Regions from separate parts of the Homo sapiens genome. Here all the other regions are linked to region 1. The links are contacts of gene promoters, found by promoter capture Hi-C in blood cells and fetal thymus (Javierre and others, 2016). All regions are on one chromosome and are shown on one strand. The core of a region is centred on a gene start or on the middle of the fragment in contact, and the rest is flanking DNA. Distances in the headings are between cores, read along the strand shown. Region 1 holds the start of ORC5 (origin recognition complex subunit 5). Region 2 overlaps PMPCB (peptidase, mitochondrial processing subunit beta). Region 3 overlaps PSMC2 (proteasome 26S subunit, ATPase 2). Region 4 overlaps SLC26A5 (solute carrier family 26 member 5). Region 5 overlaps SLC26A5 (solute carrier family 26 member 5). Region 6 has its middle 13 kb from the start of LINC01004. Region 7 overlaps LOC101927902 (a long non-coding RNA gene).

The links. Contacts are between HindIII fragments. The CHiCAGO score rates a contact against its expected background, and 5 or more counts as called.
Region 2: a fragment that was not itself captured here is called in contact with the fragment with the promoter of ORC5 in region 1 in 2 of 17 cell types (non-activated CD4 T cells and M2 macrophages); the score reaches 5.8 in non-activated CD4 T cells.
Region 3: a contact is called between a fragment that was not itself captured here and the fragment with the promoter of ORC5 in region 1, in 1 of 17 cell types (naive CD4 T cells). The highest score is 5.1, in naive CD4 T cells.
Region 4: a contact is called between a fragment that was not itself captured here and the fragment with the promoter of ORC5 in region 1, in 1 of 17 cell types (M2 macrophages). The highest score is 5.5, in M2 macrophages.
Region 5: a contact is called between a fragment that was not itself captured here and the fragment with the promoter of ORC5 in region 1, in 1 of 17 cell types (megakaryocytes). The highest score is 5.2, in megakaryocytes.
Region 6: a contact is called between a fragment that was not itself captured here and the fragment with the promoter of ORC5 in region 1, in 2 of 17 cell types (M0 macrophages and M2 macrophages). The highest score is 8.3, in M0 macrophages.
Region 7: a fragment that was not itself captured here is called in contact with the fragment with the promoter of ORC5 in region 1 in 1 of 17 cell types (naive CD8 T cells); the score reaches 5.1 in naive CD8 T cells.

Annotation. Positions count from the first base shown.
Region 1 is chr7:104,205,558-104,209,897 of GRCh38, reverse strand. It overlaps ORC5 (origin recognition complex subunit 5), which reads left to right and starts at 1,885. Exons shown (of 14, transcript NM_002553.4): 1 at 1,885-2,065. The coding sequence starts at 1,994. RefSeq lists enhancers at 1,707-1,866, 1,917-1,996, 2,037-2,226. The HindIII fragment of the contact is 7,936 bases long and covers 1,369-4,340 here.
Region 2 is chr7:103,309,016-103,313,355 of GRCh38, reverse strand. It overlaps PMPCB (peptidase, mitochondrial processing subunit beta), which reads right to left. Exons shown (of 13, transcript NM_004279.3): 8 at 4,261-4,340; 9 at 2,881-3,041; 10 at 1,628-1,713; 11 at 1,460-1,548; 12 at 1,225-1,300; 13 at 1-1,149. The coding sequence ends at 1,085. It overlaps DNAJC2 (DnaJ heat shock protein family (Hsp40) member C2), which reads left to right. Exons shown (of 17, transcript NM_014377.3): 16 at 255-409; 17 at 713-1,067. The coding sequence ends at 787. Among named protein-coding and RNA genes, the nearest start is that of PMPCB, 14 kb to the right of the region's middle. The HindIII fragment of the contact is 3,073 bases long and covers 314-3,386 here.
Region 3 is chr7:103,359,425-103,363,764 of GRCh38, reverse strand. PSMC2 (proteasome 26S subunit, ATPase 2) reads right to left here. Exons shown (of 12, transcript NM_002803.4): 5 at 1,677-1,808; 6 at 1,007-1,079; 7 at 326-421. It also overlaps a transcript of SLC26A5 not described here. Among named protein-coding and RNA genes, the nearest start is that of PSMC2, 14 kb to the right of the region's middle. The HindIII fragment of the contact is 799 bases long and covers 1,827-2,625 here.
Region 4 is chr7:103,376,938-103,381,277 of GRCh38, reverse strand. SLC26A5 (solute carrier family 26 member 5) reads left to right here. Exons shown (of 20, transcript NM_198999.3): 15 at 729-798; 16 at 1,943-2,035; 17 at 2,725-2,832; 18 at 3,479-3,679. Among named protein-coding and RNA genes, the nearest start is that of PSMC2, 31 kb to the right of the region's middle. RefSeq lists a silencer at 391-678. The HindIII fragment of the contact is 3,745 bases long and covers 756-4,340 here.
Region 5 is chr7:103,411,161-103,415,500 of GRCh38, reverse strand. SLC26A5 (solute carrier family 26 member 5) reads left to right here. Exons shown (of 20, transcript NM_198999.3): 5 at 2,389-2,499; 6 at 3,915-4,081. Among named protein-coding and RNA genes, the nearest start is that of SLC26A5-AS1, 32 kb to the left of the region's middle. The HindIII fragment of the contact is 694 bases long and covers 1,815-2,508 here.
Region 6 is chr7:104,976,308-104,980,647 of GRCh38, reverse strand. No RefSeq gene overlaps it. Among named protein-coding and RNA genes, the nearest start is that of LINC01004, 13 kb to the left of the region's middle. The HindIII fragment of the contact is 2,128 bases long and covers 1,299-3,426 here.
Region 7 is chr7:104,959,486-104,963,825 of GRCh38, reverse strand. It overlaps LOC101927902 (a long non-coding RNA gene), which reads right to left. Exons shown (of 2, transcript NR_187679.1): 2 at 1,492-1,842. Among named protein-coding and RNA genes, the nearest start is that of LINC01004, 30 kb to the left of the region's middle. RefSeq lists an enhancer at 2,403-2,472. The HindIII fragment of the contact is 1,381 bases long and covers 1,698-3,078 here.

The sequences.
Region 1 (4,340 bases), core at 636-3,135:
CGTGCACGGTGCACTGCACCCACTATCCTGTGCCCACTGTCTGGCACTCCGTAGTGAGATGAACCCAGTACCGCAGATGGAAATGCAGAAATCACCCGTCTTCTGCATCACTCATGCTGGGAACTGTAGACCAGAGCTGTTCCTATTCGGCCATCTTGGCTGCCTATCGAGGCCATTATTATTCACTGTTTGGGAGACTGCAATAGTCGTTTCAACAAATGAAATTGATTCCACTTTCCACACTGTAGCCAGAAGGAATATTTCTAAGTCAAATCTCAACATTTGCTTCTCTGCCTACAATTCTTTATTGGTCCCCAGCCTGACCTCCTACTACTCTCCAGGTTTATATGTAAAAACTATTTGCTAGTTTCAGTTATGGGATTGCCCATTTGTCCCTTTTTGTCTGTACATTCTTTTGTTTACAATTTCCTTCTTGGTCTCACAGGTGAATCTTTTCTTCAGCCTCAGCTTCCAGGTTCTCTCCTCTGAGAAACCATCCTAAATCATCCAGATGGTAAGGCATGTTCTCTCAGATCAACAATTATCTTTATTATGTAACTGCCAGGCGTTAACTGTGTATGCTGGAAATTGAACTGTGAAGACAGTGTTTCCTGTCCTCATAAAGTATATAGAGAGGGAGACTAACATTTTAGACAGTTTAGTCAGTTTTATTGAATGCTATAAAGATGTCGTGTTATGATTATAATATATGTATACCTTATATGCACAGTATGTTACGGACGTATAACCATCTTAGGAGAGTATCAGAGGCCAGCTTCCCTTGGAGACATTGAAATTTAATGGGTGGTCCCATTATAACCTTTAGAATTCTCTATTAAAAAGTACCTGGGCAAATGCTTTTGAATTGTTGCTGTGAAAATACTATTTTGACTAGCTAATACGTTATATACCACAACTCTCAAAAGATCCTTTTGACCATCACAAATCTAAGACTGATCTACAATCTATGGGCAGATTGAAGTCCACAATTTAAATTTATGTATAACAGGTAGTATGTACAGGATCTTCTACTCCTAGCAATAACCTAGCCAGTATTATCCCTATTTTATAGATAAGGAAGTTGAGGCTCAACTATTCCAAAGTCCCCCTATTCAGCAGTTGAGTCAGTCAGTGGTCCCAACCCAGGGGTTTCAGGACGCCAAGCTCTCTTTCCACCATGCACTTGCCTACTTCTGTATCTTATTTCCAGAATCTTCTAGTGTTTAGTCGCTAGTAGGTGCCTCACAAATAAATACACGTGAAAGCCTAATGCTAAAAGTAGCATTATTTTTACTATCAACCTCACCAACACACACTACGACTTCATCCCATTAGGACTGAGAGGCTTTCCACATCTGGTTTAAAGCTTGCACAAAAAATAGTAATTCCAAGCTGTGCATTAAACCCCATTACACCCTGTTTTGTACTCAATGCCACTAATTTCCCACAACGTCGTCAGGGAAAAAAACGACAACAAAAACATCTTTTGACAATATTAGTCTTCTAAGTCCGCCTTCCACGTCCCTCTAAGGGCCCCAGCTCCGGGTCCGTCTTCTTAGGCACTCAAGGTTTCTAAACTTGGGGCTTCCAGCCGGTAAAACTAAAGGCACGGGGTTCAGGGGTCATTGGAGGCCCACGGGACCCCCTTAACCCCTTCCACCCCTTCCCTATTCGCCCATCTCCATGTCGTCTCCTTAGCCTTTGAGTGGAAAAAGCGTCAGCCCGAAATCCCCACCAAGCCCAAGAATGGGCAAAACCTCGGCGCGCACAGGACCAGCGAGAAGAGGATGGTTCCGGCCCTGAGACTAGAGCGGCGGCGACGCTCGGCGTACGCGCTGCCGTCACGCCGCAGCCCGGCAGCGCAGGCTCCTCCCACGACGCTGCGGGTCCGGTTTCCGGCGGGAGCGTGGGCCGCCAGACTCGGGAGAGGCTCCGTCTTGTGCAAGGGTCCTGTGGGCTGGCTGCACTGGCCTCTGCGGTGGTGCCTGCCAGAATGCCCCACTTGGAAAACGTGGTGCTTTGTCGCGAGTCTCAAGTGTCCATCTTGCAGTCCTTGTTTGGAGAGGTATTGTAGTTAAACTGTCTTCCAGATCCTGGAGGCAGACGTTTCGGTAGTCTTGCGACCTGTTCCAATATTTGTTTTTTCGTGTTTGGATTGAGGGCCAAAAGGCCGTTTTTACGTTAAATAGGGGTGTTGTGGTTCTGTACTGCAGCTTCACCCACAGTCTCTTCCGAATATTGAAGAGGAGACAGTCTGAGAGCGACCGGCCTGCACTATAGGACGTTGCCTAAGACGTATTTGAAACACGCCACACTTTTCAGAAGTTTGCCCACATTAGCTCCTAGAAGTTGCTTGTTATCTTACCCCAACCCAATGACATTTATGTAACAGATGTGTTTGCAGGGTGTTATTTATTCAAATGTAAGTTCACACGTTTCTGTGCGGTAGTTGGAGTGAGTCAAGTGTAGAGAGGTGGTTGCTTTCAAGGCCACTAAGGGCCAAAGCAGTGCTTCAGGTTTAAAAATTTACTGGCTTTTCCAGAATTGTAACAGTCCAGAAGAGGTCTAGGGTAAACTTTTCTCCTTAACTGATAGTTCACAGGATGCCCTAGAGAGGAGTTTGTCTTGTCTGGATGAACATAGATACGTAGGGAGTCCTTTCAATAGGCAGAGGGTAGCGTTCACCAATTCAAAATTTAACCTATTTTTGACTATTTTCTGGTGGTCTTTGATGTGCTTTTTGATTCAGACTCAATCAGAATTGGAATTAATCAAACTTGGATCTTACCTGCGAAGAGAGTGAATGAGAATTCAGGGTCATACTCATACCCCCATCTTCTGGTTTGCTTTTTTAAGTACAGTCATGCGTTGCTGCCACTTAGTGAGGGGGATACGTCCTGAGAAATGCATCGTTAGGCAATTTAATCCCTGTGAATATCAGAAAGTGTATTTACACAAACCTAGATGGTGTAGCCTGCTATACACCTAGGCTGTATGGTGTAGCCTGTTCCTCCTAGGCTATAAACCTCTACAGCGGTGCTACTATACTGAATACTGTAGGCAGTTGTAACACAGTGATAAGTCTGCATCTAAAAGTGTCTAAACATAGAAAAGGTACAGTGAAAATAGGGTATTATAATCTTATGAGATCACTGTTGTATATGTGGTCCATCTTTGAATGTACACGTGACTGTACTTTCATCCAACTAGAAATATTGCATGGCAATTTGAGGTGGCCTGTGAAGCATTAGTGGAAAAGTACTACCCTCTGTCTAAAGGGGTGCATTATTTAGGGAAGTTAGAGGTCAACAACTGCATCTTCAATTAATTTTCTATTTATACTGCTTTCAATTATAGTTATATTATTACTGGAGCATTTTCTTGATTATGTTCTCTGCATTTCATCTATGGAACGCAGATCACTCCAGCCAGAAATGTTCCTGCTGAAAGAGCAAATTGGCAAATAGGGATGAGTAAACTTAGTGGTGGATCACAGAAGAGTTTTTGACCTTTGCTTTTAATGAAAATTATGTTTAACAATATTTTAATATCAGTTTTCTGCAAGGTGCTGTGCATGTGGGAAATACAAACAACTATAGCAAAGAAATATAAAAAATTGGTTCATGTTTCTAAGAATACTCATTTATTTGTTCAATAAATAAATATTTACCGAGCACCTTTTCTGTGTCAGGTACTAGCTTATTGCAGTTTATGTTAGCGAGATTTATGAAGGTGAAAGGTTAAATAACAGTGGAACAGTTCAATATAATTCTAGGTCACAATAGAAAAGATGTTTAAGGTATTATTAGGCAACAACATGTAATGGATAGCAGAGATACTCAGCAACATGCATTTAATTCTTGAGACAGAATTTTTTGTTTTTGTTTTTTGAGACAGGGTTTGGCTTTCTTTCCCAGGCTGGAGTGCAGTGGCATGATCTTGGCTCACTGCAGTCTCTGCCTCCCAGGCTCAAGCAGTCCGCCCACCTCAGCCTCCGAGTAGCTGGGACCACAGGTGTTTGCCTCCAAGCCTGGCTATTTTTGTGTTTTTTGTAGAGATGGGGTTTCACTGTATTTCCCAGGCGAACTCCTGAACTCAAGTGATCTGCCTGCCTTGGCCTCCCAAAGTGTTGGGATGACAGGCTTGAGCCACTGCATCCTGCTGAGACAGAATTTTTGGGCCAGTTAATTTATGATTGTTACATATAAACTTCAGAAAAAGATTCATGTATTACATTACCTATTCATTTCAAGTAAATTTTTAGTCTATTTTTAGCAGTTGAGCTGCTTTTGCCATAGCTGTATGCCATTTAGAAAGTCTTTTTCCTGCGTAAATCTGAG
Region 2 (4,340 bases), core at 601-3,100, 900 kb after region 1:
AAACAGTACAAGGTAGATCTTTACTATTGTGTTTTAAAAGCCTTTGAGATTTTATTTTCTGGGATGTGAGCTATCTGAAATTTTTTCTCTTATTAACACTCAGAGGGCTATATGTATCTCTCATCTCTACAAGTTTATTTTCAAAATGACACATCCCAGATTGAAATGGGCACTTAGCGAATACTTGTGGACCACAAGACTTGTCTGAGAACATGTTCAAAGACAGTTTTCAAATAAAAATTTTTCTTAATCAGGTCCATATACAGACTTCACCCCTTGGACAACAGAAGAACAGAAGCTTTTGGAACAAGCTTTGAAAACATACCCAGTAAATACACCTGAAAGATGGGAAAAAATAGCAGAAGCGGTGCCTGGCAGGACAAAGAAGGACTGCATGAAACGATACAAGGTTGCAGACTTAAGCGTTTATAGATTGTTGTATTTTAAATTGTAGCTTGGGTGATATAGCTCATATTTTATGTCTATTAAGTGGTTAATAATATAGTGCTTATTTCAAAACCAGTAGTTATGGGGTCAATATTATGAGGAAGAAATGAGCAACCTTAGAAACTTTCTAGGCCCTGGCAGATAATGAAATCAGTATATTTAGTACTATCTATCTTAGTTGCTTGAATTCTTTACACCAAACACTAGATTAAAATGTCTGTTTTTAAATCGCAACTTCTTAAATCACACCTTTCTCCCTTCCTAGGAACTTGTCGAGATGGTAAAAGCAAAGAAAGCTGCTCAAGAACAAGTGCTGAATGCAAGTAGAGCCAAGAAATGACAATCTTTGTTGTGTGTGCATTTTTATAATAAAACTGAAAATACTGTAAACATTTTCATTCTTAAAATTATACTCATGGTAATAATTTGAAAGTATGCTGCTTCCAACATAATTTCTCAGAGAACAAAGACTGACCATTAATACAAAACAACCTTCAGAGGGGTAGTCTTTTTATCCTTTGAAAGTATGATACAGTATTTAATTCAAATTTCCAAATGTATATACATGTTCATTTTTATTTTTCTCTAGCTCTGTTTTATAAATACATGTGTTCAAACAATCTTGATTAGGAGCATTTTAATCACGAAGCCAACACATGTTACTGCGTATCTGTTTAAAATCTGGTAGTTGCTTAATGGGACCTAAGGATTAAAAAGAAGAGTTAATTAAAAGTACTTGGCCAACTTTTTGCATAGAAGAAAAGAAGCCAGGCTTACCAACAGCAGCAATAGCTGGACTCCTATTATAAATGTATTTGGTACATACTTCTCGAATTGTCTCAGCATTCACAGCCTGAAATATGGAAGACACTGTCATTCAGCTGTTTGTAGTAAAAACAAAGTCTATACCTGGAACTTTTTAAAACTAAAGCAAGATGAAAGATACATATTCTCAGCTTTTGTAACAAGGATCTTTTTACACATGACCCAATAGTAACTCAGGACTACTTACATCAATTCTTGCTTCAAGCTCAGGGATGGGAATCCTTCTATTATAGCATAACATTTGCCTACCAATATCTTCACAAATTGGAGTTGAACCTGTTTAAAGAGAAGGAAAAATTAACTATTGGAATACAGATCAACCATATGAAAACAGAACCTATATCTTTATTTTTACCATCAAGCTGCAACAACATGTTTGTTTTCAGAAGATTTCTGGCTCGTGCAACCTCACTTTCTGTGACACTTGTACAGAGTCGCATCCTAAAAAACGTGGAAAAACAGTAGTAGTTGGAAAATGTTGTATTTCATGAGTTAATGACCTAAGAATGATGATGCCATCTTCTACACAAAACATACAGGTGATTACAATTTAATTCCAATGCTAAGCAAAAGCTAAAATGATTATTTTCCCCAGTATTAATTTCTCAAAAATGATACATAAACATGCCTAATTACACATTAGCAGACAAAGGCTTTATACAAATGGGCTGATCACATTTTCAGAAATGCTATAAGCATCTTGAGACTTCATGAGTCCTCATCTGTTGGAGTCTGATATGCTATGGGTTAAGTCAGTGGGTCATTCATTGGTTTCTGAAAACAATGAGTAGAGTCTAACTTAAATCTAATTTTTAACAATAATTACATCCTAGTTGACTAGATTTAGAAAGATGTAAACCAATTAAGAATAGTGGAGGAAAGGAACCAGAGCTAAATGTTTTCCAAGAAGCTGCGAGCCTTTCTGCCCATCTATCGACTCAATATACTTTGTTTTCTTTTAGCAGTGGCAACTTCAGATTTACTTTCCCTTCAACCAGATTACTTTCAGAGATATTTTCCAAACAACTTCTAGTTGGCTTTTAAACTTTTAGGATCATCTTTCTGAATTAACCTGCTTCTGAAAGATTAAAACTTTCAGCCAGGTGTGGTGGCTCACGCCTGTAATCCCAGCACTTTGGGAGGCTGAGAAGGGTGGATCTCCTGAGGTCAGGAGTTCAGGACTAGCCTGGTCAACATGGTGAAACCCCATCTCTACTAAAAAATACAAAAAATTAGCCAGGCATCGTGGGCATGGTGGTGCGCCTGTAATCCCAGCTATTCGGGAGGCTGAGGTGGGAGAATGGCTTGAACCTGGGAGGCGGAGGCTGCAGTGAGCCGAGATGGCACAACTACACTCCAGCCTGGGCAACAGAGCAAGACCTCATCTCAAAAAAAAAAAAAAAAAAAAATTCTATAGTATAAATCAGCTTCACATCTTGAGACTTAGGAAAAACCAACTGCAACCTTTGAAAACATGGCAACTACTGTTTATCTAGGTCTCTTAATTAAAAGGTAAAATTACCATAAATCACCATAAAGTATAAATAAAAAACTAGTTTAAAACGAATTAAAGGCAAAATTTAAATTACTTAAAGCTATTTTTCTCACCATTCTTTTTGAACAACATGTAGCATGTCTGCAACAGTGGATGATTCACAAACCATATACAGTCCCCATAATCCTGTATCTGTGTAGGAAGTGTTGAAAGACTGAAAGCTATGGCAAAGATTGCCATGACAAGTGAGCTGGGCCAGCTTGCTAGATAAATTCTGCAAGGAAAAAAAAATTCCAAGAGAATTTTAATTATACATGTCCAAAATACAGAAAGAAAAATGGAGTGTGTGGAAAATAGTGAATATCCTTAGAGGCTGTTTCCTAGTTTTATTCAACATCTCAGTAGTAGAGTTAAAATTCAGTATGACTAAGAATTGTGTTTATTATCTCACTTACCCAGTGCACCCCCTGGAGAAATTCATGTTATAAAAGCAATGAGTCCTTATAATTAATGTAGTAGCTATACCTACTTCTAAAACTAGATGGCTATTATCAACCCAATTTCTAGGACTCTTGGCTACATACGCTTAAAGATTCAAAGTTATATTGCATATGAAGCTTAAGATTATTTAGATGAAATGTATTTTGGAGAAATCTATGAGTAAAGACAAATCTATACAATGTGTTTTGAAATAATTCCAACTTACAAAAAAGTTGCAAAAACAGTACAGAGAATTTCATTTATCTAGATTCCCTGTTATTTTACCATGTTTGCTTTATTCTCTTTATACAAGTTTTTTCAACTGAGTTTTAGATGTGATGCTTCTTGCCCCAAATACTTTAGTATGTACTTGTGAAAAACAAGGAAATTAATGTTCTTACATCACCTTGGTATAGTTCCTCAGTATCTGTGGAGAATTGGTTCCCAGATCCCTGTGGATACCAAAATCCACAGATGCTAGAGCCCTCATGTAATATGGTATATGTAATATTTGCATATAAGCACATTCTCCTGTATACTTTAAATCATCTCTAGATAAATACCCAATCCATGTAAATGCTATGTAAATAGTTGTTATACTATATTGTTTAGGAAGTGACCAAAAAAAAAGTCCATACATGTTTAGTACAGATGCAACCATCCATTTGTTCCCCAAAATTTTCCACCTATGGTTGGTTGAATCCACGGATATGGAACCCACAGATATAGAGGGCCTACTGACTATTAAAATTAGGATATTAACATTGACATAGTACTTCTAGCTAATTCTGTCCTTATTCAAATTTTGCCACTAATAAACTTTGTGGCAAAGAAAAAAAGAAACTTTTTCTGGCCCACATGCAATCCAGGATCAGTTTATATTTTTAAGTCAGAATTCACAGTACAAGACTCTATTCTGCCACTTTAAAAAAGGATTCTTACAAAGAACTTATATTTAAGAAAACATGATAATCTTCCATCTGTTATGGAAAATTTCTTTTAAAATCACTTACCATTCCTCCCCCAAAAGAGCGATCCCAGTTGCCAATCAGCGTGTTTGCAACCATGAGACAGATTGTATCTGGATGTGCCC
Region 3 (4,340 bases), core at 977-3,476, 850 kb after region 1:
CCTTTCTTCTCGATGTCTTTTGAAGAACCAGTTTCTTCTATAATAGCCTGTAACATATTTAACATATTGCTAAAGGTTACACTGTGCCTCCTCTGTCACTGTAAACAGCAGATCTTTCTTTTTTAAATATACCTGACCACTCAATCCTTTTTGCTTGCTCTCCCCTAGAACTTACCAACTCTCCACACCTCCTCTCTCCACCCTCTCAAAAAACTCTCATTAGGGAAAATATTAAAAGCCATCTAATATACAAGCAATTTTAGTGCTCAATACACAAAAGACATCTTTATACAAAGAAATTTAAATACAACACTCAGCTACTTACATGAAGTAATGGGGTTTCAACTACTTCTCGCAGTTTCTCAATCTGTTCCTTACAGCCACCAACATCACTGTATGTGACATCAGGTTTCTCTTCCACCTAAGAGAGGGACAGAAATGTACAACATACAGTCACAGGCTTTTTGGATACTGTCCAAATTCAATAGAATAGACCTAATACCTTAAAAGAAAAACTCACAAGTGAGAATTTTAATAAAAATTGAATACATTGCCCAGTGCCCTGGAACTACTTGCTGTATTAACTTGTTATGACACTAATGAATGAAAAACAAACTAGTAAAATAAAGACAGGCTGAGACTCTGTCTCAAAAAATATATATATAAAATACTGCCGGGCTCAGTGGCTCACGCCTGGAATCCCAGCACTTTGGGAGGCTGAGGCAGGCCAAACACTTGAGGTCATGAGTTCGAAACCAGTCTGGCCAACATGGTGAAACACCGTCTCTACTAAAAATACAAAAATTAGCTGGGCGTGGTGGCGGGTGCCTGTAATCCCAGCTACTCGGGAGGCTGAGGCAGGAGAATTGCTTGAACCCGGGAGGCAGAGGTTGCAGTGAGCCAAGATCACACCATTCTACTCCAGCCTGGACAAGAGTGAAACTCCGCCTCAAAAAAAAAAAAAAAAAAAGACATAGCCTTCCTTTTCCCTCCCATAGTTTCTTACCTGCATCATGGTAACTGTTGGGTCAATCTTAGGAGGCAATGGAATGTGAATTTGATATTTATTTCTATCCACGCTAAGGAAGTAAAAAAGATAGTCATTAATACATTCTTTAAGCTTTCAAAGTGCTTTTATGTTTAGTCCTTTATCCCCAAAACCATACTTTAAGAAAACAAGAGAGAGACAGAGTCCCTAATTATATAAAGAGAAATAAAGAGAGCATGAAATCTGAGGATACTAAACTACATGTCTAATGTCGCAAACAACCTATCCAACAGCAATCAAACCTTTGAGGAGGGAGGGGAGATTTTTTTTTAATTTACTAAGTGAGTTGTTATGTATTCTATAGACATTAACACACTTAGCATCACAACTATCCTAAAGCAAGTACTCCCCCAACCTATACCATGTTACCTTAAATGGACTGGTAACCTCAACTCTGAAATTTGAAGCCATTCATAATAAACAACAGTGGGAGTAGGGGAGTCAGCGAAGCCGATGGGAAGTTAGGAAGCAGATGCAGAAGACAGAATTTTCAACTATAGTACATTACTAGATCATCCTTTGGTATTCCAAGGAACTCAGTCCATTTATTCACTACAAAGCCAAGGATATGAATGTGAGACAGTATCCTTAGTGAAAGAAAAGTATTTATTGTAAATAGAAATCTTACCCCACTCTCATCCCTTCTTCAATGTCAGTAGGTGCCACCTGATCACTAAGGTCCACCACAAACTTGGCAAACTGCTTTACGTTGATAATGTATTTTGGGTCCTCCGAATCAGCATTGATTATCTTTGTACACCTAACACAGCAAAAAGCTTGATTAGAATAAGGAACCTAAGCCACTAATAATGAATTCAACTAACTAGATTATATCCTGAGTGTGCAATATACAGGTATAAACTAGAACTACAGAAACTGGGACACTGTTAAAGATCCTTTTCTATACCCAACTCCAAAGGTCCATTCGACTTTAGCCAAGTCATAAAATTTTCAAATACATTCTCCTGGAAAATTAAACCCAAATATCTCATCATTAAGAAGTTCTCTGATTTCTTGATTTCCATAGTTTGTATTCCTTTATTATTAGTGATGCTCCTGTATATCTTAAGTTGCTCTCGTTTTTATTTTCCCTACAAAAAGATGGTCATCTTGTCTTACACCAAATTCAGTAATAAATGGGTTTTCATTCTTTTCCTGAGTTTATACTTTAAATCCGTTTTTCTTTTTTTTTTTTTTTTTTTTTTTGAGATGGAGTTTCACTCTTGTTGCCCAGGCTGAAACACAATGGTGTGATCTTGGCTCACTGCAACCTCCACCTCTTGGGTTCATGCAATTCTCCTGCCTCAGCCTCCCGAGTAGCTGGGATTACAGGCATGCACCACCATGCCTAGCTAATTTTGTATTTTTTTTTTTTTTTTTAGTAGAGAGGGGGTTTCTCTTGAACTCCCAACCTCAGGCTAGTCAGGCTGGTCTCGAAATCCCAACCTCAGGTGATCCGCCCGCCTCAGCTTCCCAAAGTGCTGGGATTACAGGCGTGAGCCACCACACCCGGACTTTAAATCCATTTTTATTGTTTTTGCTACTTTTTTCTTTTTTTAACTGAGGCAGTAGAAGCTTGTTTTTTTTTCTTTTTCTTTTTTTTGAGACAGAGTCTTGCTCTGGAGCCCAGACTGGAGTGCAGTGGTGCGATCTCGGCTCATTACAATCTCCGCCTCCTGGGTTCAAGCAGTTCTCCTGCCTCAGCCTCCCAAGTAGCTGGCATTACAGGAATGCGCCAGCACGCCCGGCTAATTGTTTTGTATTTTTAATATATACGGGGTTTCACCATGTTGGCCAGGCTGGTTTCAAACTCCCGACCTCAAGTGATCCACCTGCTTCGGCCTCCCAAAGTGCTGGGATTACAGGCGTGAGCCATTGCACCCGGCCAGTAGAAGCTATTTTTAACTTAATTATATTCATTTCCATATGGCCTGGTAAAAATGAATTTATAATGCCATGCACATCACAGTATAAAATAGTCAACCGCCTTTCCCCTTCTATAGTATCTATCTACTAAAGAAAAACAAAAACAAAAAACAGAACTCACATTAGAAAGCTGCTACATAAGCCACAGCAAGAATTACAGAGAAATACAAAAATAGCCTGTGGAGTGCGCACATAGGTAGAGCTAAAAGTAAGGTACAGAATGCTTTGGCTTAGCCAGGTGTGGTGGGATGCACCTGTAGTCCCAGCTACTGAGGAGGCTGAGGCTGGAGGATCACTTGAGCCCAGGAGGTCAAGGCTAAAAAAGAATGCTTTGTCCTGATAGCATAATTGTGTGAAGGACTCTGTTTTCTGTTACCAACCATGTTTGCTAGGGAAGAAGAATTATACCCATTCTCTACCAAAAAAAAAGAGGCTGACCAAAAAACCTGAAAGGAAAAACAAGAACAACAAACAGCAATAATACCAAACCCTGGGGAAAGGAAGAATTTGATTTCCAGAGGTGACACATTACATTATTTTAAATGTCTAGTTATCACCAAAAAGTTATGAGATGCAAAACATTATGAAATGCATTTTCCCTTATGTATGACATTATGGCTCATACATAAGGGGAAAAAAATCAGTCAATAGAAATTGTCCCTTAAGAAGCCTAGATGTTGGTGTTATTAAACAAAACTTTTTTTTTTTTTTTGAGACGGAATCTCACTGCTGCCCAGGCTGGAGTGCAGTGGCGCGATCTTGACTCACTGCAACTTCCGCCTCCCACGTTCGAGCAATTCTCCTGCGTCAGCCTCCTAAGTGTCTGGGATTACAGGCGCCTGCCACCACGCCCAGCTAATATTTTTATATTTTTAGTAGAGACAGGTTTCACCATGTTGGCCAGGCTGATCTCAAACTCCCAACCTCAAGTGATCCACCTGCCTCAGCCTCCCAAAGTGCTGGGATTACAGGCATGAGCCACTGCGCCCAGTCAAACAAAAACCTTAAATCAGTACAAGAAATATTTTCAAAAAGCTAAAGGAAACCATATCTAAAGAGTTTATAGGAATGATGAGAAGAATGTCTCACCAATAGTGAATACAGATAGAGAAATTAGACTGGAATATTATTTGGCCATAAAAAGTTCCATCTATTTTAGAATACGGATGAACCTTGAAATATGCTAAGTGAAGGAAGCCATGTACTATATGATTCCATTTAGATGATATGTCCAGGATAGACAAATTCATAGAAACAGAAAGTAGATAAATGGTTGCCAGGGGCTGGAAAGAGACGGGAATGAAGACTGCTAATGGGTATTGGGTTTGTTTTTGGGGTGACAAAAATATTCTATTCTGGAATTAGA
Region 4 (4,340 bases), core at 1,379-3,878, 830 kb after region 1:
TGGTATGTGGGTGTGTATACATTGTATGTGTGTGTATTGCGTATGTGTGTGGGAGTGTGTATATGTGTGGTATGAGGTGTATATGGTATGTGTGTATTGCATATGTGTGGTATGTATGTGCATGGTGTGTATGCATGTGAGGGGTGTGCATTGCATAGTATATATGCAGTGTGTATGATGTGTATATGTGTGGTATGTAGTGTAGTGTGTGTATATTGTGTGTGATATGAGGTATGTATGTATGGTGTGTGTGCATTGTGTGTGTATGCATGTGTGTGGGGGTATGTATTGTGCATTATACATGTGGTATGTATGCATGTGTGTATGTATATGTGTGGTATATCGTATAATGTGTGTGTATTCTGTATGTGTGGTGTGTATGCATTGTGTGTAGGTATGTATATTGTGTATGTGTGTGGTGTGTGAGGTAGGTATTGGGATGTGTATGTGTAGTATGAGGTGTACATGGTGTGTGCGTATCATGTGTGGTATGTATGTGTGTGTGTGGCATGTGATGTGTATGTGGCATGAGGTGTGTGGGGTGTATTAGGCTTGGAATGGCACTGGGAACGTGATATGTGTGGAGCCCTTCTGCAAAGGCACCATGTAAGGATCAAGCATTCCCAAATGCACCAGCAAACCCCAACCTGACATAAACATACACAACCTCCTGTTGAAATCACACGCTGTGCCTCAACACAATGGTATTTAACACTCTTTATCTTCAGTCCAAGCTACAAAGTCCTTGGAAAGCTTCCTGAAACTGATGTGTATATTGATATAGACGCATATGAGGAGGTAGGACCTTTTTCTATCACTTAAAAAGGTTGTAAGCATGTGATGTGCTTGGCTAAGTACTGTTTTTACCCAGGATAAAAAGTAGGGGTAAGATGGGAGGTATAGTGGTCAAAGTGAAAAGTCTGAGCTTTGATCTACTATATGGATTCAATTTTATAATTTATACTATGCATTAACTACTCAATTTCCAATATTTATTTTTCCTCATTTTTAATGGGGATAAATATATATTGTTGAAATTAAAGTATACATTTATACAGTATTGAAACTGAAAGGATGGTTTGTGTGTGCATGGTTTTTTTCTGATGAATGTATAATGGTAAAATAATTTTAACCATGTAAAATGTAGATGGTGGGGCTGTGGAATTCTCCCACTTCATTTGAATGGTTAAAATTACAGCTTCAGATTTCCTTGATTTTGAGTGTTCTTTTCTTCTGTGGAATATCGAAGATTTTTACAAAATCTTTTAAAACTAGTTTTGTCTGTCGGTCTTGTCTTATGCTTGGGAAGAAATTCTCAGACTCACTTTAAGGTATTAGGATATGAGGAAACAAAATTCACTCTAAGGTAAAGGTGTTAGAATTGCTATATTTTTCCTCGATCCAAAGAAGTATATGCAACATTGCTTGTTTCCAGCCTGCCTCCTAGAGTTCCACAAGGGTTCTTGATAAAATATTCACTCAGTTTCACTTGTGTCCATTTAAGCTCCTTCCTGCTTCTGTGAATCAAACCAGTGTAAACTTCTGTTCACTTTATTTGCCTGCCTCTCACAGTCTGGGCAGCAGCCTTCCATCTCCTGTCCATTTTCTTTTCTGTTTTTGAGTATTTTTCAGTTTCTTCTTTGTGTTTAATGGTAAAAATAAAACGAAGACTGACTTTTAAAACAAATGGAAAGATGTGCATGTTAAAAAGGTCTCTGTCAGTTCTCTTCCATTCAGAGCATGAGTAGATAAGAGTGACTTTTTTTTTCTTTTCTTATCTTTTTTTTTTTTTTTGGTCTGTGTGTGACATCATTTTAGCTAAGCCCTGAAAAGGGGACCTTAGCAACTTCTGCATTCATTTTCTATTTGGGGTGGGGAAGCTATGCAGTTTTGATTCTGAAATATTTCCATGTGTTAAATTCAGCAATATTTTACTCTTCAGGTGAAAGAAATTCCTGGAATAAAAATATTTCAAATAAATGCACCAATTTACTATGCAAATAGCGACTTGTATAGCAATGCATTAAAACGAAAGGTGAGTCATGAGAAATTGATTATTTCTGAGGATGGGATTTGTGGGTTGACAGGGATATGAGGATCACTAGTATACCTTTGTATATACTATTTCATTCTCGCTTTGTTTCTCTCTCTTTTATTGTAGTAAAATATACATAACATAAAATATACTATTTTAAGCATTTTCAAAGTATACAGTCCAGTGGGTCGCATTAAGTACATAAACATTGTGCAGCCATCACCATTGTTCATTCTCTCTTATCGTATATATAATATTACTTTTCAAACAAAATTTTAAGAAAACATGAGAAAATAATTTTAGGTTTCTTATTCTTGGGATCATGTAGATTCCTTTGGTCATGTTTAGAACTCAACCCTACACCACGCTGTATATAGGAAAAGCTCCCTGTCAACCCACAGAGTCTCTTAAATATAACAACCTGACAGATCTGAACTTGAAAAAGACTGCTCTAAAAATTGTCTTTAATATTTTAGCTTCTGGTTGTCTTGAATAAAGACTGAGAATAAGAAAGGCTACTAATGTAAGGGAGTAACCAGTTCAGGGCCTCTGAGGGAAAGGCAGTGCAAGGGTTGGGGTGATAATCTGACCCAGAAAGCAGTTAAATGGGGAGATTTGAAGGGGAGTGGCATTGGGGTGGGTCCCTGAGAGCCATGAAGTGATTTTGCATATGGTGCTCTTCTGTAAAGACTGGAGTGAACCCAGCAGTCATCATGGGAGCAAGGAGAAAGGCCATGCGGAAGTACGCTAAGGAAGTCGGAAATGCAAATATGGCCAACGCAACTGTTGTCAAAGCAGTGAGTGGTCTTTTCATTGAAATAATCCGTTCTGTCTTGTTCTGCAATGCCCTCCATCTTTACTCATGACTGAAGTTTAAACACAGCACGAAGTTACTAAAAGAGGAAAGTTTAGAAACCACCTTAGTATCCTCTATATTTTACAAGCACCTGATAAGGTCAGTTATGAGGCTGTTTCTGAAAAAAGTAAGGAAAACATCATTTTAAAAAATAAAAATTACACAATACCTTAACAGATTTTACCATTAGCACTTTGTCATAGATTTATTCAGCTGATAGTTTAAAAAGCTCAAAGGTGGCTTTTGCTGTTCAGGCATGCTAATGTGTGACCCATCATACTAAAGTTAATGGAACTATTTTAGACTTTAGCAGAAAATGGATAGGATAACTGAGGAGAGTGGATTTTGTTGGACAAGAAAAAAAAGGAGGAGAAGGAAAAAGAGAGAAGTTGACTTAAAATGGAATGTTATACATACATCCTTTTTTTGTTCAGTTACAAGGCTAGAATATGACAAATATTTTACAAGGGGTCTGGTAGAGTCAGTAGCTTAAGAACACAAGAGCAGATTTTCCATTATAAATCTTTCTCACAACCAGAAATGTGAGTTGTTCATAAAATTCTGGTTTGGTTTAATTTTTGACACAGGATGCAGAAGTAGATGGAGAGGATGCTACCAAGCCTGAAGAAGAGGATGGTGAAGTAAAATATCCCCCAATAGTGATCAAAAGCACATTTCCTGAGGAAATGCAAAGATTTATGCCCCCAGGGGATAACGTCCACACTGTCATTTTGGATTTCACTCAAGTCAATTTTATTGATTCTGTTGGAGTGAAAACTCTGGCAGGGGTAAGCATCCTCTTGAACGAGTCATTTAATACCTCTATGCCTGGTGTCGTACTATCAGCATAATCAGGGAGGTGGGCTAGGCTCTCTTTTCAACAAAAGATTTATCCCCTTTTGATTATGGAAAATTTCAAAAATATATAGAAGTAAAGATTTTAGTATATTGAACCCCCGTGAACTATCACTCAGCTTCAACAATGATCAATTTATGGTCAATCTGGTTTCCTTTATAGCTGACATTCACTTTCTCTTGTTTTATTTTGAAACACATCCCAGTCATAACATCATCTGTAAATATTTTAATGTGTATTGCTACAAGAAGATTCGTTTTAGAAAACATTACTGTAATATGCTAGGCTACTCAGGAGGCTGAAGCAGGAGGATTGCTGAGCTCAGGAGTTCAAGACCAGCATGAGTAAACTAGTGAGATGCTGTCTCTAAAAAAAATCGTTTTTTATTTTGAAATTATAATATCCTTTAAGTTAATATAATAGTTTTATTGTACTTAAGTAAGATTTAACAGTATTTTTGCTACCCCTAATTATCACTGTCCACATAAAAAGCAAAAGAGATACAAAATTATTTTTAACTGATTAGCTCAAAAATACATCATTATTGAAGCAAAGTAGCTCAAGTGAATGAATTAGAGTGTCTTCTATCACGA
Region 5 (4,340 bases), core at 912-3,411, 790 kb after region 1:
CACCCGGTACCCACATCATGATAATCAAAAATGTCTCCAGACATCCCCAAATGTCTCCTGCCAGAAGTGGGGGTGGGGGAGCGCTCTCCTTTGAGAATGATGATTTAGGAAAATGGAGGTAAATAGAGAAAAACAGCTAAACGAGTTGGAAGTGATTGGCTCCGAGGAGCAAAACCTGGAGGAAGAGGGGTGAGCAGAAAAGAGCTGGCTCTTCCAGAGAGCCTTTGCTGCTTGGCTTTTTAAATCGTATGCATACATTTCTTTGCTAGAAATAAATTTTTTTAACAACATTCGAGTGACCATGTTATTATACATGAAGTTAGGATGCTTTCCCAACTCTTCTTTTGCTAAAGCTGTTTTCTCCACAGCATAACAGTGCATTAAATGAGTTTTCTAATTGTCCCAGAAATTTGGCTGAGCCCCCAAAGCTGAGAATAAAAAGGGCTTATTGCCTACACATTCTGAAGAGGGATGCCAGTCAATCTATCCCAAGCTATGAATGAATGACCCAGGCCCTCTTGAGTGTGTCACTTTAACAGAATATATGAGGGAACGAGGAGACTGATTTGGAATGAGAATTTTCCAGGGAGAGGTTAAAACCCTATCCATTTCCCCTCCACCTGTAGTCAAGTAAGAAAGGACTACAAGAAAGCTGCTCAGCGTGCTGAACAGTACCCCCTGGAGTTTGTGAAGACTGCTGCCTAATTCTTGCATGAAAAAGTCCAGCTGCTCTAAAAACTAGTTTTTAAAAAACTTTCAAGTGAACCTGCACATGGATGTTTATAGCAGCTTTATTCATAATTGCCAAACCTTGGAAGCAATCAAGATGGCCTTCAGTAGATGAATGGATAAACTGTGGTACATCCAAACAATGAAATATTCAATATTAAAAAGGAATGAGCTATCAAGCCATGAAAAGACATGAAGGAACCTTAAATGCTTATTACTTAGTGAAAGAAGTCAGCCTGGTGTAGCTTAATACTGTATGATCCCAACTGAATGACATTCTAAAAAAGGCCAAACTGGCCAGGCACAGTGACTTATGCCTGTAATCCCAGCACTTTGGGAGGCTGAGGTGGGCAGATCGCCTGAGCCTAGGAGTTCAAGACCAGCCTGGGAAACATGGGGAAACTCTGTCTCTACAAAAATTAGCCAGGTGTGATGGTACACACCTGTAGTCCCAACTACTAGGGAGGCTGAGGTGGGAGGATTGCTTGAGCCCGGGAGGTTGTGGCTGCATTGAGCCATGAACATGCCCCTGTACTCCAGCCTGGGTGACAGAGCAAGACCCTGTCTTAAAAAAAAAAAAAGGGGGGGGCAAAACTTCAAAGACAGTAAAAATATCATTAGTGTCCAGGGGATGGGGGGAGGGAAGTATGAATAGAGCACAGAGAATTTCTGAGCAGTGAAACTACTTTATATCACACTATCATGATGGCTACCTGTCATTGTACATTTGCATAGACTGTACCACACCAAGAGTAAACCTCATGTAAACTATGGACTTTGGGTGATAGTGATAGGTCAATGTAGGTTCATCACTTGTAACAGATGTGCCACTCTGGTGGGGGATGTTGATAGTGGGGGATGTTGATAGTGGGGGAGGCTGTGCATACATAAGGGCAGGGAATGTATGGAAAACCTCTGTATCTTTTGCTCAATTTGCTGTGAACCTAAACTGCTCTAAAAATTCTATTTAAAAAAAAATGTCTAAAGGATGATGTGAACTGCCTAGGACCGCAGAGTGAGGGAAAGAGTCCCCTAGAGGGTGTGACCTGCACTTCCAAAGTTTCTTGGGAGTAAAATGTCAAGCTTTCCCATTGAGTAACTGGAAGGTAATGAGACTTGGCCCATTTGATAGGTACCTGCCTAAGAAGACTGCCTACAGGATGAGCATACACCAGCCAAAAGAACGTGGAAGGCTGTACCTTCTGATAAGAGTCGGAGGAGGGATATCTAAGAGTCAGGAGGAGGGAGCATTACATAGGTTAGGGCATAGTAACTGAGAGTCCCTTATTGCAAAGGGGTCTCCAGAGAACCCACAAAAACACCCCATTGGAGAACGAGCTCGCATTTGTGAGTCAACACCAAATTACAATGACAACCACTAAGATAAGACTTTTTTCTGCTTTTATCTAATTTGTGAAAGAATAAAGCAGAAAAAAAAATCACCCACTGGCAAAAAGGAGATGACAATGCAAAGTTTCTCAGCTTGGACTCTATCAGCACCAAGGTAAGATGATGTGCAGGACTGGGGTAGGGCAGGTTGCAGCTTAAATTAAGATGGGCTTCACTCGTTCATCAGAAATAAAGAACCAAGAGAAAAACACATGTAACACCTCTGTCTTCTAATGATCCCCCATTTCTGTTTGGTTTTTAATCCCACAGGCTTAGCCTTTGCAATGCTGGCAGCTGTGCCTCCAATATTTGGCCTGTACTCTTCATTTTACCCTGTTATCATGTATTGTTTTCTTGGAACCTCCAGACACATATCCATAGGTAAAAGCTTACATTTGATATTCTATTACCTTTCCTTGTGTATTTCCAACCTTGCAATGTGCCAAAGAAATAGCATGGTCATTATTAAAAATTGTCTTAATAACAACTTTTGTTACTGCATACACAATAGGTGCTTTAAAAACCTACACTCGGCCAGGTGCGGTGGCTCATCCCTGTAATCCCAGCACTCTGGGAGGCCGAGGCGGGCAGATCGTCTGAGGTCAGTAGTTCGAGACCAGCCAGACCAACATAGTGAAACCCCATCTCTTTGTAAAAATACAAAAATTTGCCAGGCTTGGTGAGGGGTGACTGTAATCCCAGCTACTCAGGAGGCTGAGGCAGGAGAATCGCTTCAACCTGGGAGGCAGAGATTGCAGTGAGCTGAGATCACACCACTGCACTCCAACCTGGGCAACAGAACGAGACTCTGTCTCAAAAAAAAAAAAAACAAAAAAAAAACTACACTCCTCCCAAGATTTCTAGAACTTACAATTTTCTTATAATCTTGGGATAATAAAAAAGACAATTTTCTTGTGTAAAAGGGCAATTGTTGAAATCTGTGAAATGAGATAAATGCTTGATTTCATAATGTAATTTGCCAGCTTCTGGTTTTTATTTTTATACTAATGGTAGTACTTCAAGTTCCTAATCGCTATGCATGTATTTCATTTTTGTCATATTTTGGGCTCTGAATTGTACATATTTTCAGTTTATCAGGGGCATATGGATTTCATAATAGTTCTGGTGCTGCATAAGGCTACTACCTAACACACACATACTTTCCAGATATCTACTGTTTGGTAACAAATACCCCCAAAATGTAGCAGCTTTACAACAACAATCATGTTTGTATCTTCCATAGTGCCTGCAGTTCAGGACTTGGGAAGGGCTGGTCTGGGTAATTCTTCCTCTCTCCCTTTTTCCTCCCTCCCTTCCCTCTTCCCTGCCTTCCTTTCTCCATGCAGTCCCAGGAATTCTCCACTTGGCCTAGTTGGAGCTTTCTTACACATGGTGACTTAGGGCTTCAGCAGAAGGTGGAAACTGCAGCCCTTTTATTACCTAGCCTGAGAAGTCACACAACGTCACTTCTGCTGCATTCTTTTGATTACTAACAAGTCAAAGCCAAGCCAGATTCAAGGAGAGAGAAATTAGACTCCACCTCTTGATGGGGAAATGTCAAGAAGACTCTGTGGATGGAAGATATTGCTATGTCTATTTTTGGAAAATACAGTCTGCATGCGCACACACGCACACACACGGTTGCTCATACACCAGGGGCAGGACACTAAAGAAGGGAGCGTAGCCTTCCTTCAAGCATGATTTCTTGACCTCACCTTTGTCTCTTGGTGTACTGGCAAAAACCATATCAGATACTCTGAACCCTGAACAGGGATCTTCATGCTTCATTATTTCAGGTCCTTTTGCTGTTATTAGCCTGATGATTGGTGGTGTAGCTGTTCGATTAGTACCAGATGATATAGTCATTCCAGGAGGAGTAAATGCAACCAATGGCACAGAGGCCAGAGATGCCTTGAGAGTGAAAGTCGCCATGTCTGTGACCTTACTTTCAGGAATCATTCAGGTAAGGCTCAAAGATGGGGAAATGGACTGTCTCGTTTGTTAACCTAACAAGTATCTACTGAGTGCTCTTGGCTGGTCTTACTACACGGTGGATGGGGTCAGCCAGAAAAACCCCAGAGCTCTGGGAGTAACTGCAGACCAACTGCATGCCATATTCACAACTATGAGTGACGAGCAAGCAAGCTTCAGGTGGGTGTTTTAAAGATCCCAAAAGCAAGACAAGTTTGACACGGCAGGATTGGTTAGTGCTGGGAGAGGAC
Region 6 (4,340 bases), core at 1,113-3,612, 770 kb before region 1:
TGACTCATTACTGACAACGACAATAGTAGGTTCTAGAATCCTGCCGTCATCCATTCTCACCCATTTTCAGCATTGCATAGGCTATACAGCTAAAATTTACTTCCTCAGACACATTCCAAGAGATACCTTCTCTCCACATAGTCTACATGACCATCTATAGTTCTTTTCCTGCACTGACAGACATAGACTTTGGTACTTAATACCAGTACTTCTTGGGCTCTCCAAGAACCCAGTTGCTTGAGGAAAGCATTGGGTGCTTCTCACCCTGAGTCCCTGGAATCTTTGGTTGGGCCTGTATATAATAAATGTCCCCATTGCTTATTTTTCTTGTGTGCTTTATATTAGACATGTCACAGTGTTGTCTCTCCTTCCCTTCCATTGCCTCAGTGCTAAACCAGACCAATTTTCTCATGAAAGGTACATGATACAGGTAACCATGCATTGTGCCTCTATTAATGCTTATACATTATGCTAAGCATTTTACATCCACTACTTCTTTCACAACCACATCCAGTAATAGAGTATTCCCATTTTCCAGAGGGGAGAATTGCCCTAGTTCACACAGATAAATGGCAGAGCCAGACTTCCAACCCAAGTCTGCCTCTAGAATCTGTGGATTCAACACTGCATCAGAAACTCCAAAGGGAAAATTTTGAGTTGTCTGTCTCCAGAAATTCCTGCAAGGAAAATCATGAAGCTCCCTTTAGGCACTAAGCCATAAGTTCTGAGGCTTCATCCTTTTCAAGAAAACCCACCTACCTAGCCCTGATAATTATTAGAACTGCGATGACTCACATTTACTTGGCACCTCACAGTTTTCAAAGGTTGGCCCATGGGGTATCTCATTTTATTTTCCAGAAAATCTTTTGCGTTCATCATCAACTGAGTGTCCAAGCTGGTGAAGCAAGTTCTTTTCTGGCAGAAGATTGCAGCTCCTATTATTTACCCCCCAGGGGATAAACTGCAAATCCCAGGCCTTACAGCTGGGAACACAGAGCTAGCTGTGCAAGCATATAAAAAACCTTGACAAAGCAGGAGGGGGGTTCACATACTGGCTATCCTCATTACAGTGCATTGGGCAAGGAGCTCTCCCACTGGAAGCTGTATCACAGAACCACAGGCACTGCCTTGGCGGGCAAAACCACATTCAGCAGTTCTTCAATCAGCCAGGGCCTTCCCTGCCCGTGTGCTCATTCATTTATGCTACGCATGTGGTCTCTTATAATTGCTTTTCCTCTCCTTAACTCTCTTTTCATACCCCAGCCCCTACCCCCAACTCCCTCTTGTCCTTAAAAGCTTCTTCCTGCTTTACACCTTAACCTCTTTGTAGGATCCCAGTAAATGCCAAGGCTTGTGGGGGTGGAAGATTATAAATCAAAGCCACAGACACAGACATGGGGGAGGAGCCACCCAGGGGGTGGAAGGGCCACAACTTCAAAACAAATGAGCCTCTTTCATCCCAGTGGGATTTTTGTTTTTTAAGGTCTGCAGTTCCGGTGGGGCATTAAATCAGAAGCTATGGTTTCTGGGATTTATAGGAAGAACAACAACTAGAGAGTTGTCCATATGTGTTCCCTGAGTTTCAGCAAAACTTGGGGGCCTAGAGAAGTCCTGTTATTTTTAAAAAAGTGTCGTTTCTCCGTTAACAAAATAGGTTTCACATTTTAAAAGCAGCTTAAAGCATAGCATCAACCATTCTTCCTCCACAATTGAGAAGTTCCATTAAATGATAGAAGGGGTCAGATTTGAGATATCTGACTAAATATTATTTAAGAAAAGTTAAATTTTGTCAGTTCTCAATTATCTGTGCTAGTGGAGGGGATCCAGGGACAGAATTCCACTGGGACTTTAATTCACTTGTTGATTTGCATTTGGCATTATGAGGCATTTTAGTAATGAACACTTTAATATGGGTGTGCCTGCAGTTCTGGAAATTTACAACTGTTTATAGCAAATAACAAAGCTACTCAGTGAAGATGCTGACAGGGCTGGAATGCTGTCAAATGACTTTTCCAGCCTCTGGACCAACTCTGTTTACTGAGGCCTGGAAACAAAATAGGCTTTGGCTTCAGACAGGAACGTTTAAATCCTTAGACTCACATTATCAAGTAGTTTAGGAAAAAAAAAAAAATCCTGATGCTGCTGTGTAATTTTTCAGATTCTTCATTTGAAAAATGGGAAAAAGAAGTAATATCACGTACCTTGACCATGGTATCAGAGAATGACCTCAGAAGTTGTGAGGGAATTCTCAGACAAAACTTTGAAATATAATCCAGGATTCAATCAGGTATTATTTTAATCTTTAAGTAGTCTTGATGGGTTGCAAACTTTCATGAATAGAGGAGAGCTGCTAAGTACTTGGGTTAAGAGGGCTTGAGACCAACTCCGGTATAAATTGTGACATTCTGTCTATATAGTATAAAGGACGCTCAGCATAACCCAAGAAGGTCACAGACCAGAATCACTGGCTGAAACCTCTGGCAGTGACCAACCTCAACTCAAAAGGTAAGTATATTTTGTGTTCCTAAGAATCCAGAAAGTTCAAAATTTCTATTAAGAAGTTGCTGCTGGCCAGGCACAGGGGCTAACACCTATAATCCCATCTCTACAAAAAATACAAAGAAGCCAGGCATAGTGACAGGCACCTATAGTCCCAGCTACTGGGGAGGCTGAGGCAGGAGGACTGCTTGATCCCAGGAGGCAGAGGTTGCAGTGAACCAAGATTGTGCCACTGCACTCCAGGCCCAGAGCAAGACCCTGCCTTTAAAAAAAGAAAGAAAAAAAAAGTTACTGCTTGCTAGAAGACCTGAGACCTTCCCATAGCCACATGAATGGGTATGGAAGTAAATTTGCCTCCAGGAGAGCCTTCAGATGAAAAGGTGGAAGCCCAACACCTTGATTACAGCCTTGTGAGAGAACCTAAATTAAAGGCACCTAGCTAAGCTGTACCCGAGATTCCTGACCCAAAGAAATTGTGAGATAATAAATGTTGTTTAAAGCTGCTTTTAAAAAAAGAAGTTTCTGCTCTACGGTTTATCTTCAGTCAACTTATTCTGTGTGTTAATACGTGAGCCATTATAACTCTCAATACATTTGAATTTGCACTAAGTGGCAGATGTGGCCTTGAGTTCTCCACACTGCCCAAGAAGCCAGATGGCAAGAAGGCTCATTTAGGCAGCCCTCCTACACAAAACTCTGCACCACATGCACAAATTCTGAATTGTGTCTGTAGGAGGAGGGGGTGGTTAGAATCGGGCAGAAAGAGCCAGAAACCAAGTGCCCAAGCATTCATGATCTGCTGAAAATACCAAGTGAATTTCTGCAGTTTCCTTACCATCCATATTATATAACATGCCCTGGATTAAGGACTCATTCTTCATCACTGAGGTAGAATTGGGTCCTTGTGCCCATAAACAAAAGAAAGCTTGGCTAATGCAATTGTACATTCTTTCCAAAGAACACATTTGTTTTCAGATGAGGAAGTCAGAGCACTGTTGTGCTAAATGTTTAGATCTGGTATTACTTAGGATAGGGGTTGGACAACTGTAACAAACAGATGCCAAAATTGAGTAGCAGTTCAGTAATGTCAGGGGCCTGCTTTCCTTCTCTTGGTGCTGCCACCCTCAATACATGGCTTCTATTTCACTGTTTAAGATAGCTGCTCCAGCTCCCACCCTCACATCTGTGTTCCAGCAGAAAGGGAGAAAATGAAGACACTGTCCTCACTTTTAAGGATAACAATCTGGGCCAGGCACGGTGGTTCATGCCTATAATCCCAGCACTTTGGGAGGCTGAGGTGGGCAGATCGCTTGAGTTCAGGAGTTTGAGACCAGCCTGGGCAACAGGGTGAAACCCTGTCTCTACAAAAATAACCCAGGTGTGGTGGTGTGCGCCTGTAGTCCCAGCTACATGGGGGGCTAAGGCAGTAGAATTGCTTGAGCCTAGGAGACTGAGGCTGCAGTGAGCCATGTTCTTGTCACCGCACTCCAGCCTGGGTGACAAAGTGAGACCATGTCTCAAAAAAAAAAAAAAAAAAGAATCTGGATGTTGCATACATCACTTTTACTCCCATCTATGACCATATCTGGCTGCAAGGGAGGCTTGGAAACTGGATGACTCTGTATTCAGCTAAAAATTCCATTATATAAGAAGAAAAGTACAGATTGGAAGATAAACTAGCACTTTCTGCCAGGATTCCCTTCCTGTGGCTTACCCCTCCAAACATACCTGATTAATATTCAAACTGCTGGGCGAAAAGCCTATTTAATTCCCTATGTAAAGAACATGTTGAAAACTAGAGGCTTGTCCAGGTGCGGTGGCCCACACCCGTCTCTACTAAA
Region 7 (4,340 bases), core at 1,139-3,638, 750 kb before region 1:
CAAGCATGACAAGGTTTTTGTCCTGTGGGCTGGGGATGCAAAAGGACACAAGATCATGAACATGTGGGAAGGACCTGGGACTGGGAGCTAAACAAACTGGACTCAAATTCTGGATTCACCAATTCCTAGCAGTGTGATCTCTCTGAGCATCTGTTTCCTCATCTGTGAAATGAGAAGCAAAATACCATCCTTCAGGATTGTCAATGAGGCATTGTATGTATATCACTCAGCACAGCCTGAAAGTAGTAGCTTAAGCCCCTCTACTTGGGAGAACACTGGATTAGGTCCACGTGACTGACAGCTAGGAACACAGAGTGAGAAAAATCAAGACTGAGGGGTGAGCCAAGGGATAACAGAAGAGACCGAAGCATCATGAGGAAAGAGAAGAGGAGACAGAGGAAAGCAGGGAGGAAGGACTTGCTCCTTTTTGTCCTCTAAGATAGATTTGGCAAAGACAAAAGACTCAAGAGGAAAATGAGACATTATTTTGCACCATCCAGGGGCAAGATTTTGCAAGTACTCAAGCTTCTCTCTTCCAGATATTAAAGGCATAGCAAAGGGGTTATATTATTACTACTGAATGCTAGAATACTATTTTTAAAACATTGATTTTGATTTTTTTCTTCTAGATTTTTTTTCTTCTATTCCATCTCCCCATTTGAACAGACAAACCATTCTTTGCTCCTATCTAAGAGATGGGTCTTACAAGCAGAAAGCAAAGTTTTTCAGTTTCAAAAGCCTGGGCCGGTGGTTCTCAAAGTATGGTCTCCAGACCACATCAGCATCACCTGGATACTCGTTAGAAAGGGAAATTCTTGGGCCCTACCCCAGACCTACTGAATCAGCACCTCTGGGGGTTGGGCTCCACGTTCTGTGTTTTAACAGGCCCTCCAGGTGACTCAGATGTAGGCTGCAGATTGAAAACCACTGGTCTAGATCCTTAGTGAACTGGAGAGAACAAACTGGTAAAAGATTTAGGAGAAAACATCAGGAATAACAGCAAAGCTCCTTACCTAAGTTAGAAAAATATTCTCTAGGCTGAGGGAGGAGGGGAGATAGAAGGGAAGTGATAAGACAGAGAGGTGGTGGGGACAGGAGGAGAGGGCTAGAAGTGAGTGCCAGCCTACATTTTAGTAAGCCCCTTTGCCTATGCCAGACCATTGGGTTAGTTGCCTTCTGGTAGGTGTCTAGTGAGGACTTATGCCTGACAGCAAGCAACAACCAGGACATTGTTTATTGGCTAACAGTCAGAGCAAAATGTTGGGTTTGTGTCCTCCCTATTCCATATGGACAGTCCTTCCTTACAACATCCTGGAATGCTCATTAACTCTTGAGAAGGAAGGTGAGGCCCTGGACCCCTAGTGACCTGATGGTTAGGGAAGGGAGAATAAGCCCTGCACTTGATTTTGGTGGGGATGAACAGAACCAACACAAGATTACCCCTGAGCCAGGGCAAGATAACACTCACCCCAATTATAATGACTACTTGTGTTGGAAATTGGCACTCAGCATTTATTCCAGTCTCCTCCTGGGTTGCCTTTCTGTAACAGTTGAAAGCTTAGAGAGGCTAGAAAGTTTAACTCTGCATTTCCCAGACTCCCTTCAAGTTGTGGATGTGCAGCTCACCATTGCGTTGCAGAAGGCAGAAGGAAGGCAGAGGCTCTTGGCCATCTTTTCTTGGCTTGCTTGGTCAAGCTTCATGTTGGTGGCAGCAGTGGTGGCTCTTCATTCCAACTTCCACATTTCTGGAGCGCAGCAACTTCGGCGTGTTCATGAGCTCAACAGCTCCAGTGACAGCCTCCTGACCCCTCAGCCTGCTAATCTGGGCTGAGGTTGTAGCTTCTGGAGGGAGGGAAATGAGGGTCAGTTCTGTGGCATTCAGGTAGACATTCCAGAAGGCCCCAGCCTACATGCTTATTCCTTCAGTACTTTCAACTATTTCATGAGCACCAACTTCCCTGTATTAATTCCTTCTTTGCTAAAAAACCCAGTCTGGAGCCGGGCGCGGTGGCTGACGCCTGTAATCCCTGCAATTTGGTAGGCTGAGGTGGGTGGATCACCTGAAGTTAGGAGTTCGAGACTAGACTGGCCAATATGGCAAAACCCCGTCTCTACTAAATATACAAAAAAAAATTAGCTGGGTGTGGTAGCGGGCGCCTGTAATCCCAGCTACTCAGGAGGCTGAGGCAGAAGAATGGCTTGAACCCAGGAGGCAGAAGTTACAGTGAGCCAAGATCGCGCCATTCCACTACAGCCTGGGTGACAGAGCAAGACTCCGTCTCAAAAAAAATAAATGAATAAAATAAAATGGTTCCTATTTCTTCCACTAAGGATATACTATTCAAAAAAAAAATCTGTCTTGAAATTTAACTGGAGTGACAGGATGGTTGCACAGAAATGCTTATGATTTCAGAAAATTGGGCCATATGCCAAGGAGCAATAGCAGTACATGCAGTCCATGTGTCAGAGGCTCAGAGGTGAGAGCGCTCACCACCCTGGCCTGGGTTAGGTTTTGGGGCAAGGCAGAACTTGAAGGAAATGTCTTCAAAGAGCAAGCAATGTGCTTTCTGGCTAGTTTTCCTGTTTCAGTTGACTTTGGCCTTGCCTTGCTCCCTGCTTCCTCTTTTCTGCCTCCATACCATCTCTTGTGCAACTCTGCTTACAGGGAACTCCCATCCCTGTCTCTTAAGAACCAAGCAAACCCCTTTTTCTTTTCCTCTTTTATCAGCCTGTCTCTTATTTCAGAATACACATTTCTGTATGCTTCAAAGTAGTTTACAGTTTTCAGTAAGCATGACCATGTTGGCGTTACTTATTTCAGAATGTGAGCCCCTGTTGACTGCCAAGCATTATCCCATGACCATGAGGACTCTCAACAATTGCTACATTATTTGTTAGGGGAGCTTCAAGGTCCAGCTTCCACTGTCTGAAGGAGCTTCAAGAAGCTGAATATGGCAATGTCTGCTGTCCCTACCCAAAAAGTATTTGATTAGCTCTGTCCACAAAGAGCAGAAATTTGAGATGACCCCTTCTGGGCCTGGAGAGCCAGCCTGAGACTAAACCTCCCTAGAAGAAGCTTTCTTTTTTTTTGAGACAGAGTCTTGTTCTGTCACCCAGGCTGGAGTGCAGTGGCATGATCTAGGCTCACTGCAAGCTCTGCTTCCCAGGTTCACACCATTCTCCTGCCTCAGCCTCCCAAGTAGCTGGGACTGCCGGCGCCCGCCACCATGCCCTGCTAATTTTTGTATTTTTAGTAGAGATGGGGTTTTGGCATGTTGGCCAGGTTGGTCTTGAACTCCTGACCTCAGGTGATCCGCCTGCCTCGGCCTCCGAAAGTGTTGGGATTACAGGCGTGAGCCACCGCGCCTGGCCGGAAGAAGCATTTTTAAATTTTCATTATTTTATTTATTTATTTTTGGTTTTTTTGAGATGGAGTCTCGCTCTGTCGCCCAGGCTGGAGTACAGTGGCACCATCTTGGCTCACTGCAAGCTCTGCCTCCCGGGTTCACGCCATTCTCCTGCCTCGGCCTCCCGAGTAGCTGGGACTACCGGCACCTGCCACCACACTCAGCTAATTTTTTTGTATTTTTAGTAGAGACGGGGTTTCACCATCTTAGCCAGGATGGTCTCAATCTCCTGACCTCATGATCCGCCTGCCTCGGCCTCCCAAAGTGCTGGAATTACAGGCGTGAGCCACCGTGCCCAGCCTGGAAGACGCATTTTTTACATCAAATCTCAGACAGGGCAGGAGGGAATTGCTCTGGATTATTATTATTATTATTATTATACTTTAAGTTCTGGGATACATGTGCAGAACGTGCAGGTTTGTTACATAGGTATACATGTGCCATGGTGGTTTGCTGCACCCATCAACCCGTCATCTAGGTTTTAAGCCCCGCATGCATTAGGTATTTCTCCTAATGCTATCCCTCCCCCTGCCCCCTACCCCCCAACAGGCCCTGGTGTATGATGTTCTCCTCCCTGTGTCCATGTGTTCTCATTGTTCAACTCCCACCCATGAGTGATAATATGCAGTATTAGGTTTTCTGTTCCTGTGTTAGTTTGCTGAGAATGATGTTTCTAGCTTCATCCATGTCCCTGCAAAGGACATGAACTCATTCTTTTTTATGGCTGCATAGTATTCCATGGTGTATATGTGCCAGATTTTCTGTATATGTGCCACATGTTCTTTACCCAATCTATCATTGATGGGGATTTGGGTTGGTTCCAAGTCTTTACTATTGTAAATAGTGCTGCAATAAACATACGTGTGCATTTGTCTTCTTTTTTTTGAGATGGAGTCTCGCCCTGTCACCCAGGCTGGAATGCAGTGGTGTGAT